Linked DNA regions of Homo sapiens: region 1 is linked to region 2. Evidence: promoter capture Hi-C in human tissues and cell types (Jung and others, 2019). All regions are on one chromosome and are shown on one strand. Each heading gives the region's core, a stretch centred on a gene start or on the middle of the fragment in contact. The rest is flanking DNA. Distances are from core to core; before and after follow the strand shown. Region 1 overlaps GPR176 (G protein-coupled receptor 176). Region 2 holds the start of RASGRP1 (RAS guanyl releasing protein 1).

Evidence for each region. Contacts are between HindIII fragments. The study calls those that stand out against the background at their distance.
Region 1: a fragment that was not itself captured here is called in contact with the fragment with the promoter of RASGRP1 in region 2 in 1 of the 25 tissues and cell types used here (pancreas).

Annotation. Positions count from the first base shown.
Region 1 is chr15:39,803,603-39,810,435 of GRCh38, forward strand. It overlaps GPR176 (G protein-coupled receptor 176), which reads right to left. Exons shown (of 3, transcript NM_007223.3): 2 at 3,404-3,656. Among named protein-coding and RNA genes, the nearest start is that of FSIP1, 24 kb to the left of the region's middle. The HindIII fragment of the contact is 5,029 bases long and covers 1-4,393 here.
Region 2 is chr15:38,562,624-38,569,421 of GRCh38, forward strand. RASGRP1 (RAS guanyl releasing protein 1) reads right to left here and starts at 2,191. Exons shown (of 17, transcript NM_005739.4): 1 at 1,971-2,191. The coding sequence starts at 2,005. RefSeq lists silencers at 1,488-1,687, 1,698-1,917, 1,948-2,187, 2,348-2,397 and enhancers at 2,255-2,766, 2,608-2,797. The HindIII fragment of the contact is 10,595 bases long and covers 1-5,820 here.

The DNA of each region.
Region 1 (6,833 bases), core at 629-3,128, 1.2 Mb after region 2:
CACCACCTATGCACCAGGTCCTGTGCCTGGCACTGGGTTATAAGAATGAAAAGACACAGGAATGTCTCTAAACCCAACGGGGACAAAGATACACACACTAATAATTACGAACAAGGAGATGACAGCTCTACTAGAGGCAGGCACAAAGGAGGTACAGGTAGCGCCTAAAGCCACCTGGGAAAATAGCAAGAGAGGGAGACACTGCAGTGGAGTCTGGCAGGGGGACCAGCTGAAGGGGAACATTCCAGGCTGAAAGAGATGGGATGCAAACACAATAGCGACCATGGACAATCAGGGAAGGAGGGAGCATGGTAAGATATGTTCTAGATTTCTTTCTGGGAGGAGGGAAAAAGAGAAAGAAGTGCATAAGTGATGCATGCTTTCACATTTTTTTTTCTCTGAATGTAGATAGTTTTGTAATGACAACTCAGTAAATATGTGATGGCCCCACCTGTACACATGAATAGATGCTTAGGAGTTCACTGGCTCTGACTGCCATTTGCTCACTGACATGTAACAAACCCAGGCTTCCATTAATTTCCAATCCCGTTACATGTTGGGAAACAGATTGCAACATAAGCACACAGGCTCACTATAAATAATGTTCTTAGTGTGTACACCTCTAAACAGTGATGCAAGAAGTGTAGATGACCTCCCGATGAACTTGCTGACTTAGTACCATGAAATGAATAGCTATGAAGGAAGTGAGAGAAAAGACTGTCTTCTCTTCTTCAGGTGTACATGTGGATGCTTGTAAGTAATTTGCATCTGTGAATAACAAAATAGGAATTCACCAGCCCTGTTTTCCTACTAAAAGGACTTGTTTTACTTTTTAAAATTATGATAAATTTACAATAGCTTTTCTGCTGGAAAGAAAATGAGAATTTCTTACTGTTTTCGTATTTCTTTGTTTAAGACCAAGGCCCCAGAAGTAACCCACAGGGATTATTGCATTGCTTCCAGGTATAACAGCAAACTGTTCAGAATAATGTATTCTCCTTGTTGAGTCTTATTTAAAAAAAAAAAAAAACTTTCAGGATTCATAGCAGCATTACTCACAATATCCAAAAAGTAGAAACAACCTAAATATCCACCAACTAGTAAATGGAGAAACAAATTTAGTATACTCCTAAAATTAAATGAATATATTATTTGGCCATGAAAAATGAATGAAGTACTGATACATTCTATAACATGAACTTTGAAAACATGCTGAGTGAAAGAAGCCAGACACAAAAGAACACACACTGTATGATTCCACCTACATGTAATGTCCAATAAAGCAAACATATAGAAAAAGAGAGTAGATTCATAGTTGTTTATGGTCTGGGGATGGGCACAAGGAGTGACTGTAAGTAAATGGGCACAAGTTTCTTTGTGAGGTAATAGAAATGTTTTAAAATTATATTGTGATGATGGCTGTACAATTCTATAAATATATTAAAATTCATTGACTTGTATACTTCCAATAGGTGAATTTTATAATATGTAAATTATATCTCAGTCCAGAATATCAAACTGAAGACTTAAGACTTTACCACAGCAGGTACTACCAGGGGCATTCAGAAGGACACTGAACACAAAATGGTTCGACATAAAATGCATTAGTGTACCCACCGGAAGTACTCTTGAGAAAGGACTCTGACTTCACTCTTATATTCCAGTCCTGTGCAATGGCACTTTCCAGATATTCAAAAAGCAATGGAAGAGACATGCAACGTCACCATAAAGCAGGCGTGGCAAATTGGCATCTCAGGGCACACATTCATCTTGCTGAAGGGATTCACATGACCCACATAATACTTTTTGAAAAAAAAAAATAATTGCCAACATTTTTAAATTATGGAATTCTAAATTTTTTTATTCCTCTTCTGAAAGAATAAAAAAGTCCTGCCCACCGAGTCTAGATTCCTACAAAGCAATTATTAGCTGCAACTGCTGAGCGGCTGATCCCCATGAACGAGAATGTGGACACACTCTCCACGTGCCACAATTGCAACCTGGTTATTGCTTGACTTGTCACCTGCCTTGTTTGGCTCCATGGATGGTGAGATTCCAGTCCCTTCTAAGGAGCTGGAGCTGCTCCCAGCAAGATCTGATGGTAACATGATTGCAGAAATATATCTAAGGAAGAATGTGCCATCAGAAGGGAAGCCTGAGAAAGAGAGGCAAATATTGGTGCAGCCCATCCTAACACAGGCCATAAATAATTCACTTAATTATTTCTACTGCTCTGGAATCTGAGGCTCAGAAAGTTTAAGCAGCTTTACCCAAAGCCACTCAGCTAGAAAGCTATGTAGGCAGGACTCAAAGCCAGGCTTCTATTCCAACATCCATTCTCTTAACCACAATGGCAATGACTTCTCCCAGTATGCTGGGGGCTTCGTGTGACTCTGTGTCCCTCCATGCAGACAGCACCAGGCAGCTGAAGAAATCAGGGTCCCTGGCCTGAGAGGCTGAAATGACTCTATAGATGGGTTCTACAATCAATACCCTCACAGGTCATTAAGGTATTATGTTTTGAATGGACAAAGAGTTCTAAATTTTCAAATTAATCTAAAATGTAGTTAAATTTTAACATAGGGCATAAAATCAGAATAGCCTGCACTTTCCCTTCAGCAACGTTTCCTCTATGTTAATCTTGAAATCAAAAGTACTCATGGACATAAAATACTTTTCAATTCTTGTTTGCTTACTTAATTCAATTCTCTAGAAAATATTATCTAAACTGTATTCATGAAGCACTAGCTAGAAAGGAGAAAGGCAGGAATTTGCTGATTATGAGATCTTTATGCAACTTTGATAAAATTGATAAAATTATGTAGAATGGCAGTAACTAAGATGTAAGGTTCACTTCCAAATGAACATCTTTTTAAAGAGGATAGGAAGAGAAAGCAATCACCACTGCAATATGAAGCCTTGGAAATAAATCCTCCAGAGGAATTCTGGTGTTACCTAGCCAGATCCAAGTGGACCATCTAATCGCTTGTTAAATAACCACTGAATCATTCCCTTGTTCTTTCAGAGATGTTCCATACTGCATCAAAAAGCCCTAATTGCAGAGTTATCAATCAGATGAAAAATCTACTGCAAATTGCAACACAAATACCACCAACTGCAACCAAGCTGAACTGACACCATGATCTAGCAGCTCTGCCCCAGCATCCTCACCATGGAACTCCCATCCCCAGGTCTTCTCTCAATGGTTTTATTTTCCATGGCTGTTGCTAAATCCACCTGTCCTTTGTGAGGCATCTGTTTTGCACATTTATTCCCTTTCTGTTGATCACAAGCTGACTAAAAAGCAGTATACGGAACATTGACTACTCATCATTTGCTTCATGATGCTAATTTTTTAATACAACTTAAAAAAAAAAGTTAGCTCCTGGCTACCTGATCTTACCTGTCCAAAGCAATAGCAGGGAAGCTGAGGATGGTCACAGAGCAGAATACTTTGTGCAAAAATTTGACGACCTTGCAGAAGAGCATGGTGTAGATCCACCAGCAACAGTGAGGACTGGTGCTGAGGATGATGTCGAAGGGCACACAGACCAGGCTGGCACAAATCCCCGAGCAGGCCAGGTTTTTAATGAACCTGTTGGTGACAGATTTGAACACGGTTGTGCGGCAAGTTGACCATAACACCATGAAGTTTCCTGGTCAGATATGAAAGAAAATAAAATAATTTAAATAAAAATTTAAGAACTAAAAAAAGGAAAAAAGTACAGGTTAAAAAATGTAAAAAACACATTTGAGAGTTGATTTCAAAAGATTTAATGTAAATCCTAATATTAAAATTTAACATATATGATACATTACAGTCAATTTATGTGAAATTATTAAATCACATATCAATAAGTCTAGAAAAAATTTTAGTGGTGAGTTTCTCTATTTAATTTTGGGCAAAATAGTATTATAACGATGGCTTAGTCTCATCAGTGTATAAACAATTTGCTAGTTATTACTTAATCCCAGGCAGTCTGCTCTTATCAAGTTTTCTAGTGACCTCCATGTTGCCAAACTCTGCAACAGAAATACAGTGCAAACCGCACATGTCATCTTAAATTTATGGTAGCCATGTTTTAAAAAAGTAAAGAGAAGCAGGTGAGATTTTAATAATATTTTTTATTCAACCCAACAGATCCCAAATATTTCAACATGTAATGATTACTTTAAAATTATTAATATTTTTCATTGTTGTTTTTGTACTAAGTCTTCAAAATGCAATGTGCATTTTATTTTACACTTACAGCACATCTCAGTTTGCACTAGTCACCTTTCAATAGCCACATGCAGCTAGTGGCCACCACACTGGACAGCACTGTTCTAGACTTCAGCAGCAATGATGCAACCAATCATCTCTCTTTGAGCATTGTCCTCTGTGGCTTCCACAGGCCTACAATCTCCTGGTTTTCCTTCCACCCTCCCGCTTCCGCCAGTCCTTGGCTGCTGCAAGTCTACTCTTACCAGGTTTTACAGAAGAGCATGGTACAGCTCCGCCCCCTCTATCCTCTCTCAATAGCCTCTCCCTACGTTAGACTACCCATTCTGGTAATTTTCCATCAAAATGCTGATGACTCCCAAATTCATGTCCTAAAGTAGGGTTTTCCCCTCAACTCCAGAATCCTTTTTCCAGATAAACTTCTGATACCCCTCTCAATCCCCACCATGTTCCTCAAGGGTTTACCTACTCCGATGCCTGCTGCCTAATCTCATACCTTCCTTCCCCTGGCTTGCTGGGCTCCAGCCACTCTAGTCTTTGTGCCATTCCTGAAACACATCAGGGCTAATCCTGCCTCAGTGCCTTTGTATACATTTTCTTATACTGCTTGGGATGTTGTTCATATGTCTGATTACTTTAAATCCCAGTCTTAGTTTAAATGCTGCCTTGTCAAAAAAGCCTTCTCTAACCATTATTTTATTTTAAACACTAACTGCTCCTGCCTCCATTATGCTCCATTATCATATCCCATTGCATCCTTCATAGTTCTCATCACAATTATTCATTTGTTGACTTGTTATCTCTCCATTTCATGAAGAAAAACTGTATCAATCTTGTTCACTGTTGTAACTCCATGCCTAGCTCAGTATCTGGCACAGAGTAGGCATTTGATAAATATTTGTTGAAGAAATGAATTTGTAAAATAAGCAGACACACGGTAATCAAAAGTCCCTGTGGTAAGAGAACCCCTTTTGTAGTATGTATGTCATGTAAAGATATTCTAAGTCAGCAAGCAGTTCCCAAATCTCACCATACGTCGGAATGACTGTACCAGATATACTGAATCACAGTGCATAAGTATGAAACTGGGAACCTGCAACTGTAACAGGCACGTTGGTACAGTTGGCCCCCAGACTACAGTTTCTTTTAAACCACTTTTAGACAGAGTCCACAGCCCCATGCTCAGACTCTCACAGGGAACCAGTCCTCAGGTGTGAAGGGCAGCCTGCTGAGGGGTTTTATTAGCATTTACATGCTCATGAATGAGGAAAGTTGTTTTCATGCTGTTATTTCTTTAAAACCCGAGACTGCTATAATCACATTTTATTTCCATCTATTTATATGCCTCTAGACAGCATGCAGAGCCTAATCTCTTCTGCTATTAAGAACCTGAGGCTAAATAGTCCTATGTTCTTTCCATTCTCTAAACCTCTGCTCTCGCTCTCTCCTCATTTAAAACTGACTCATTTGGTTCTAAGAACCTGAATTGGATGAACATGTCAGGATACAAGCACCCATACCCAATACCCATTTGGTTACACATTTAAAAATAAATGTGTGTGTGTGTGTGTGCGTGTGCATGTACATGTGCATGCCCACACAGCAACAAAGCAAGATAACTATATGATTATTTAACCTCATTAGCACTTCAGATTCTCCTTCGTTTTACAAGGCATACCAAGTAAGGATAACTCATTATATATTTAAGTAACAAAATTTTCAACCTCTATATACTTTTTATTTTAGAGGTCACATTCTAAGTCACCTAATCTACCCTAGAAATGATCTAAGCTCTGGAACCATTCCAATTCCCTATGTATTCCCATTATACTTTCTAATGTTTAATTCCATGACAATACTCAACGCCATTGCTGTGGACACAGCAACACAATTAGGACATACAGCCCATACAACCAAAAAGGAAATAAGAGGTAGAGAGTGGTGACATTGGTACAAGTCTGCCCTCCCTGGGACTGCTGTAACTATGTCATTCCTCAAGAAAAATAACTAACGGATACTAGGCTTAAGACCTGAGTGATGGCCGGGCGCGGTGGCTCATGCCTGTAATCCCAGCACTTTGGGAGGCTGAGGCGGGCGGATCACGAGGTCAGGAGATCGAGACCATCCTGGCTAACATGGTGAAACCCCGTCTCTACTAAATATACAAAAAATTAGCCCAGCGTGGTTGCGGGCGCCTATAGTACCAGCTGCTCGGGAGGCTGAGGCAGGAGAACGGCGTGAACCCAGGAGGCGGAGCTTGCAGTGAGCTGAGATCGTGCCACTCCAGCCTGGGTGACAGAGTGAGACTCCGTCTCAAAAAAAAAAAAAAAAGACCTGAGTGATGAAATAATCTGTACAACAAACCCCCATGGCACATGTTTACCTATGGAACAGACCTGCACATCCTGCACATGTGGCCCTGAACTTAAATAAAAGTTAAAAAAAATACAAATTAAGACTTCTCGTTCTGTAATATACTTAATAGTCAAAGATAGTGGATGTGGAAGACAAAGCCATGTGAATTAACCACAACTCTGACAGACAGTGCTTGATTGATAATGAAGAACCTTTTTCCAACTAAATTTTGCCTCTGCAAAATTTTAGCTTTGGT
Region 2 (6,798 bases), core at 941-3,440:
CTCCTTCTCTCAGGCCTTCCACAATACTTCTCCCTAGACCTTGGAGAAGAGGCAACTGCAACTAGAGGCTCTATCTACTGACAGAGCTCTTCCTGCTAGGGGTGGAGGGGAGGTGGCTACAGATCCAAGGAAAATTCCATTTTCTTTCTTGGTTGGTGACACTGACCATTCAAGACTCCTAATCCTGCCCTGTTTTCTAATTCTGGTAAAGTTTCCTAGTGTCACCAGTAAGAGAAACCGCTTTGTTTCATAAGTGGATTCTTGAAGGTTGATGCTTTTACCAGAACTAGAAGGGATCAGGGTAAAGTATAGGGTAGTAAAAGGGAAGAAAGGGTGACAAAAGCAATCTGGGAAGTATGGAGCCCAGAGAGACTCAGAGGACTAGGCCATGAGAGAACAGGGAGAAGAGAAAGTACTAAAAGCCAAAGTGCAGCCTCAGAGTTCTAAGAAGATGGGGATTATCTGCACCATAGACTAGGAAACCTGGCTTTCTTGCTGTACAGTCTCTTAACTGGTTGCCTTGTGAAAAATCCTCAAATCGTTCTGCCTTTTCTGGTGAAATGGGAGTAGACAAGGATTTATAAAATGCTCTATTATAGGCAGGTCGAAGGTGTTTTAACAATCCATAGAATGAATGGCCTCTGAGTCTGTAAAGGCATATTTTTTAAAAAAATACAGTAGCCAAATGTTTTCCTGTAAATGAAAAAACCAAAACCCCGAGAGAAACAAATTAACTTGAAGGTGTTTTCCAAGCCTAAAAGTAACCAAAGCCCCATAGGTTTGCTGAAGGAGACCGTCAAAACTCTAAACTGGTTTAGGTGAAATCCTCTCCAGGCATAGGTATCTCAGTGGAGGTCAGTTTCAGGCTGAGCTTTTTATGAAATCCGCCTAGAAAAGTAAGAGATGAAATGGAGCAAGGGAACTGGAACTTCCACAACTTTCTTTGCAGTGGAAGGTGACTCTCTTGACTTCTAGTATGGATTCCTTCCAGTCCCGTCCTCTTCCCCTTACAATACTCAATTTAATGTACTGAACTCCTCCTTCTGAATCTAGTGCAAAGTACAGTGGTGGACCCTCAGGGGATACCTGGATGGGGAGAGGCAGGGCGTGCATACAGGGCCAAGAATCCTTCGTTCCTGGGATTATAAGCACGGGAAGTCCAGCATCGCAAGCTTCCTGCCGCTACTGGGTATGGTGGTGCAAGGCACAGTCCCATCAGTGTCGATGTGAATGGAGTTGTGAAGTGCACAACTTGTCCAGCCCCTACGCCGAGGCCAGGCCTTTGTTCATGCAGTTGCCTAGTTCTGGTCCTTTGGCTACAAACTCAAAGCTGCCTGGCCAAGAGCCCTTTCACTCACTGTCCCTCTTTCTTCAACTTCTGTTATCCAAGACCCTCTATAGAATCATAGTGAGGGGGAGAGGAGTGCAGCTTCCCATACGGAAGGCGATATGTTTCCCTGACCCACGGATCTGGAAACTTCCGTGGGGCAGGGGCAACCGAGGGGTGCCACCTCTGCGGGCTCCCTGCAAGCTCCTCGGCCGTTCTGGGCAGGGCCGGGAGGGGCCACCAGGTGGCGCAGCCGGAGCCCAGCGCCCCAGCAGGTGCGGGCAGCGCGGAAAGTCCGCGAGTGGGAGTCCCGATGCCGGGCGTGGAGATGTGGGGGAGGAAGTCGGCGGGCGGGCGCCGGCTCCGCGAAGAGCTTCGGCCCTAGCAGATCTCACCGGACGAGCTCTGGCCTCGCGGCCGCCCCTCTACCACCCCTCAGCCCCAGCTCCCTCCCCGAAACCCCGGGCGCAGCGCGCCGGGCGTTCTGGACACGTCCGCCCGTCGCGCTGGTGTCCCGGGACTCCGGCCGACCCCGGCCCCCCTCCGCCCTCAACTTCCCTCGGGGTGTTGGGGCGACGGGCAGGGGCCTCTTTCCCAAGAAAGGACACAGGCGCTCCCGAGGGCCACGGCCGCCTCTACTCACCGCGGAGCCTCTCTCGCCTTGCCCAGGGTGCCCATGGCCGCGGCCCGCGCTCCCGGTGCCGGCTCACCTAGCGCGGCCGGGCGCGGCGCATCGCCCCCGCCACCACCGCCGCCGCCTGCCGGCTCTCTCCCCCCCGGGCCTCGTAGCCCCGGCGCCCGCCAGCCCTCGAGCCCGGCGAGCCCGACCGAGGTGCACCGCAGGCACAAACTTTGTGCGAGCGCGCCCCCTCTGCCTCGCGCGCGCGCTCACACCCGCCTGGCAACCACCTGACACGCTGATGCTGGCGGCTGCAGGAAACGTGCGGCGCCCCGCCGCTCTTCCCCGAAACCTGCCCCCTTTCCGCGGGTGCCCCGGCCTGCGCCTCGCGCGGTTCTCTCACCCCTGCCCGCCTTCGACCTCTCTTGGCCAAAGGGTTAAGTCTCAGGGGAGTTGGAGAGGAGCGGGCTCCCGGCTACCACGCCCGCGCCTTGCAGGGCACCTGTGCCCGTCGACCTCCACCTCAGCTCGGGAAACGGGCTGCGCCTAGCGGCTCCCATGGGACCCCCTTTCCCGCAGCCGACCCGCAGCTTCCACGCCTCTTCCTGCGGCCGCTGCTCGGAGCACTGCAGTGAGGACGCCTTCTCCCCTCCAGGGCCTCTCCTGTATATATCAGAGCGCGGAGTCCGGCAGGGGAAAGGAACGGAAAGACAGTTGTGAAGTTGCCTTAACCTGTGCCCTGGGGTCTCTAGGTAGCCGTCTGCAGGACTGGGCCGTAGACATGTGCCCTGTGCCCTGCGCCCTGCACCTTGGACGAGGGCTGCCTGTGTGGAGGTGCGCTCCACAGGCGTGATCCATATCTGGCCCAGACGCGGCCGCCTGGCGTCGGTGGGTGTAGGAGATGTGGGGACAACTTTCATACAACGTCAGTGCGCACAGAAGACCTGGCCAAGAGGGGCGGCCCATCCGCTGCTTGTCCAGGTGATAGTGCTGATAATCTCAATAGCTAATGATTGAGTGCGGTTGTGCTAAGTGCTTTCTATACATTACCTCATTTAATCCACTCTCCCTGATACAAAGAGATCACTGTTGTAAAGATGAGAAAATGAAGGTTTAGAGAATGCTATGCCTTAGATCATACAACTAATAAACAGCAGAGAGACCTCTGACTTGGACTGAGGTCTGTCTGACTCCCTGTAATCACTGCTGGACTGCCCTAATAACACACTCATTATCACGGCCACAGACCATAACTCTAGCCACAGTCATAGTTGTCTTCCTGGCCATAGTGTTCTGGACTTTAAAGCCTTCCTCTGTTTCATTTATATATTTCCTTATATTTATATGCTACCTTGTCCTTAAAACAGAATTCGAGATAGCTTACAAGAGCACATAACCTACAAAAAGAAGTGTGTGAAATGAAAAATGAGGCACACAAGATGGAGCCAAAAATGAACATCATTTGAAATAAATGCATCTCATAGAGTCAAATACCCTTGCTACAGGTGGGACCAAAATTTGTCTCCTGCATTTCTAGCAGTCAAGTTTAAAGAGAGGCCTTGTCTAAAGTTCAATTCCTATCACATGCAAGACCAAAAACAAAATTGCTCAAGAGAAGATCCCCCTTTCTTGATACTGAGACCAGCAAGAAATTTCTCCAGAGAATCCTCATGAACACTGGGTGATATAAAGAACCAAGTCCTCAGTCACAGCCACAGATGCAGAAGGGGCAGGTGAATGTCAGGAGAATATTAAATGATGACACTCTTTCTCACTCACTGGGTCTAAGGCTCAAACATTTTTAGAGTTATCTATTATACACCCTTCCTCATGTAAGCCCTACAACCTAAACAACCAAGTTGGCGGATGTCTGAGGATGGTAAAGATTTGTATCTATATATGAATCTATCTGACTATCTCCCAACAGTCCTAAGTTTGCAGTCTTAGACTTTGTTCACAGAGATCTTCTCTTATTACCAGGTGAACAATTACTTTTCACTGACCCCTCTACTACAGAATGAGCTCTTTACCCTACTTAAATCTATAATATTTACACTTTCAATTGCCACATAATATTCTGTGTCCCTGTCTTACCTCCACAGCTAAACTGTAAATTGTCCGAGGTCAAGAATCAGGTCTTATGCTTCTTTAGCTTCCACAGCTGCCAACTTGAGGCAGTACCTGTGGGACATTACTAATGAACTGCTGTGGATTTGATTTTGAAAAGCAAAATGTGCTGACCTCAAAGAAGAAAATAAGATCCTTCCTGATTATTTCCGGAGAAAGGGTTTCAGTTTTTCTTTGAAGTCCGCTGTCTATGGCAGGAGTGATAAGCTTACTGGCACTGTCCCCGGTGGCTTTCGTGGGATCCCCATCACAGGTTATCCGAGGCCTTCGGTATTTCTCTATTGCTTCACCCTTGAAAATAGAGCCCCTTCCATGCCATTCATTGCACTGAGTCTTTGGACAGCAAAATCTTTGTGTGTGGCAGGGGAATAATCCAGCCTTATACTGCATATGCATAGGTATGTATGCCAAATGGATGCCTTTATGTAAATGCATCATTATATTTATATGTAAATATACATATATGCATAATACTAAGTGCACATGTAGGCAGTTACACACATCTGCACACCTACAGTCCACATATATACAAATGGTTGAAACCAAGGTTATTAATTCATTCAATACATGAGTCTTGCTGAGTTTTCTAAAGAAAGAGGCCTACATATGCCCAGCGAGTGTTTTTCTCTTGGACTTTCTGAGTACTCTGCACTTCACTTGCATCTGATTCTGCTTCTGGGCCCCCTCGAGCTCTTTTTTGAGGTTTTCTGGCTACTCCTACCTGAGCAATAAGTCTTTTCCAAACATCTAAAAAATGAGAAGTTTGTCTATGTCTCTTTTAATCATCGGCCATGTGATTAGTCTGCCTGGTGTTATATGAGGCACCTCTGACCTCAAGAACAAACTTTTTTTTTTTTTCACAAAATACATCATTTAATATAACATTCTTATAAGGTAGCTAATGAGGATAATATTCGTGCTTTTAAAAAAATCATTATACTTTAAGTTCTGGGATACATGTGCAGAACGTGCAGGTTTGTAATATAGGTATACAAGTGCCACGGTGGTTTGCTGCACCCATCAACCCGTCATCTACATTAGGTATTTCTCCTAATGCTATCCCTCCCCTAGCTCCCACCCCCAGACAGGCCCCAGTGTGTGATGTTCCCCTCCCTGTATCCATGTGTTCTCATCGTTCAACTCCCACTTATGAGTGAGAACATGCGGTGTTTGGTTTTCCATTCCTGTGTTAGTTGGCTGAGAATGATGGTTTCCAGCTTCATCCATATCCCTGCAAAGGACATGAACTCATCCTTTTTTATGGCTGCATAGTATTCCGTGGTGTATATGTGCCACGTTTTCTTTATCCAGTCTATCATTGATGGGCATTCGGGTTGGTTCCAAGTCTTTACTATTGTGAACAGTGCTGCAGTAAACATACATGTGCATGTGTCTTTATAGTAGAATGATTTATAATCCGTTGGGTATATACCCAGTAATGGGATTGCTGCGCCAAATGGTATTTCTGGTTCTAGATCCTTGAGGAGTTGCCACACTGTCTTCCACAATGGTTGAACTAATTTACCCTCCCACCAACAGTGTAAAAGTGTTCCCATTTCTCCACATTCTCTCCAGCATCTGTTGTTTCCTGACTTTTTAATGATTGCCATTCTAACTGGCATGAGATGGTATCTCATTGTAGTTTTGATTTGCATTTCTCTAATGACTAGTGATGATGAGCTTTTTTTCATATGTTTGTTGGCCACATAAATGTCTTTTGAGAAGTGTCTGTTCATATCCTTCGCCCACTTTTTGATGGGGTTGTTTGTTTTTTCTTGTAAATTTGTTTAAGTTCTTTGTAGATTCTGGATATTAGCCCTTTGTCAGATGGGTAGATTGCAAACATTTTCTCCCATTCTGTAGGTTGCCTGTTCACTCTGATGATATTTTCTTTTGCTGTGCAGAAGCTCTTTAGTTTAGTTAGATCCCATTTGTCAATTTTGGCTTTTGTTGCCATTGCTTTTGGTGTTTTAGTCATGAAGTCTTTGCCCATGTCTATGTCCTGAATGCTATTGCCTAGGTTTTCCTCTAGGGTGTTTATGATTTTAGGTCTTATGTTTAAGCCTTTAATCCATCTCGAGTTGATTTTTGTACAAGGTATAAGAAAGGGGTCCAGTTTCAGTTTTCTTCATATGGCTAGCCAGTTTTCCCAACACCATTTATTAAATAGGGAGTCCTTTCCCCATTGTTTGTTTTTCTCAGGTTTCTCAAAGATCAGATGGTTGTAGATGTGTAGCATTATTTCTGAGGGCTCTGTTCTGTTCCATTGGTCTATATCTCTGTTTTGGTACTGGTACCATGCTGTTTTTTTTTTACTGTAGCCTTGTAGTATAGTTTGAAGTCAGGTAGTGTGATGCCTCCAGCTTTGTTCTTTTGGCTTAGGATTGTCTTGGCTATAAAGGCTCTTTTTTGCTTCCATATGAAATTTATAGCAGGTTTTTCTAATTCTGTGAAGAAAGTCAATGTTAGCTTGATGGGGATAGCATTGAATCTATAAATTACTTTGGGCAGTATGGCCATTTTCACAATATTGATTCTTCCTATCCATGAGCATGGAATGTTTTTCCATTTGTTTGTGTCCTGTCTTATTTCCTTGAGCAGTGGTTTGTAGTTCTCCTTGAAGAGGTCCTTCATATCCCTTGTAAGTTGTATTCCTAGGTATTTTATTCTCTTAGTAGCAATTGTGAATGGGAGTTTACTCATGATTTGGCTCTCTGTCTATTAT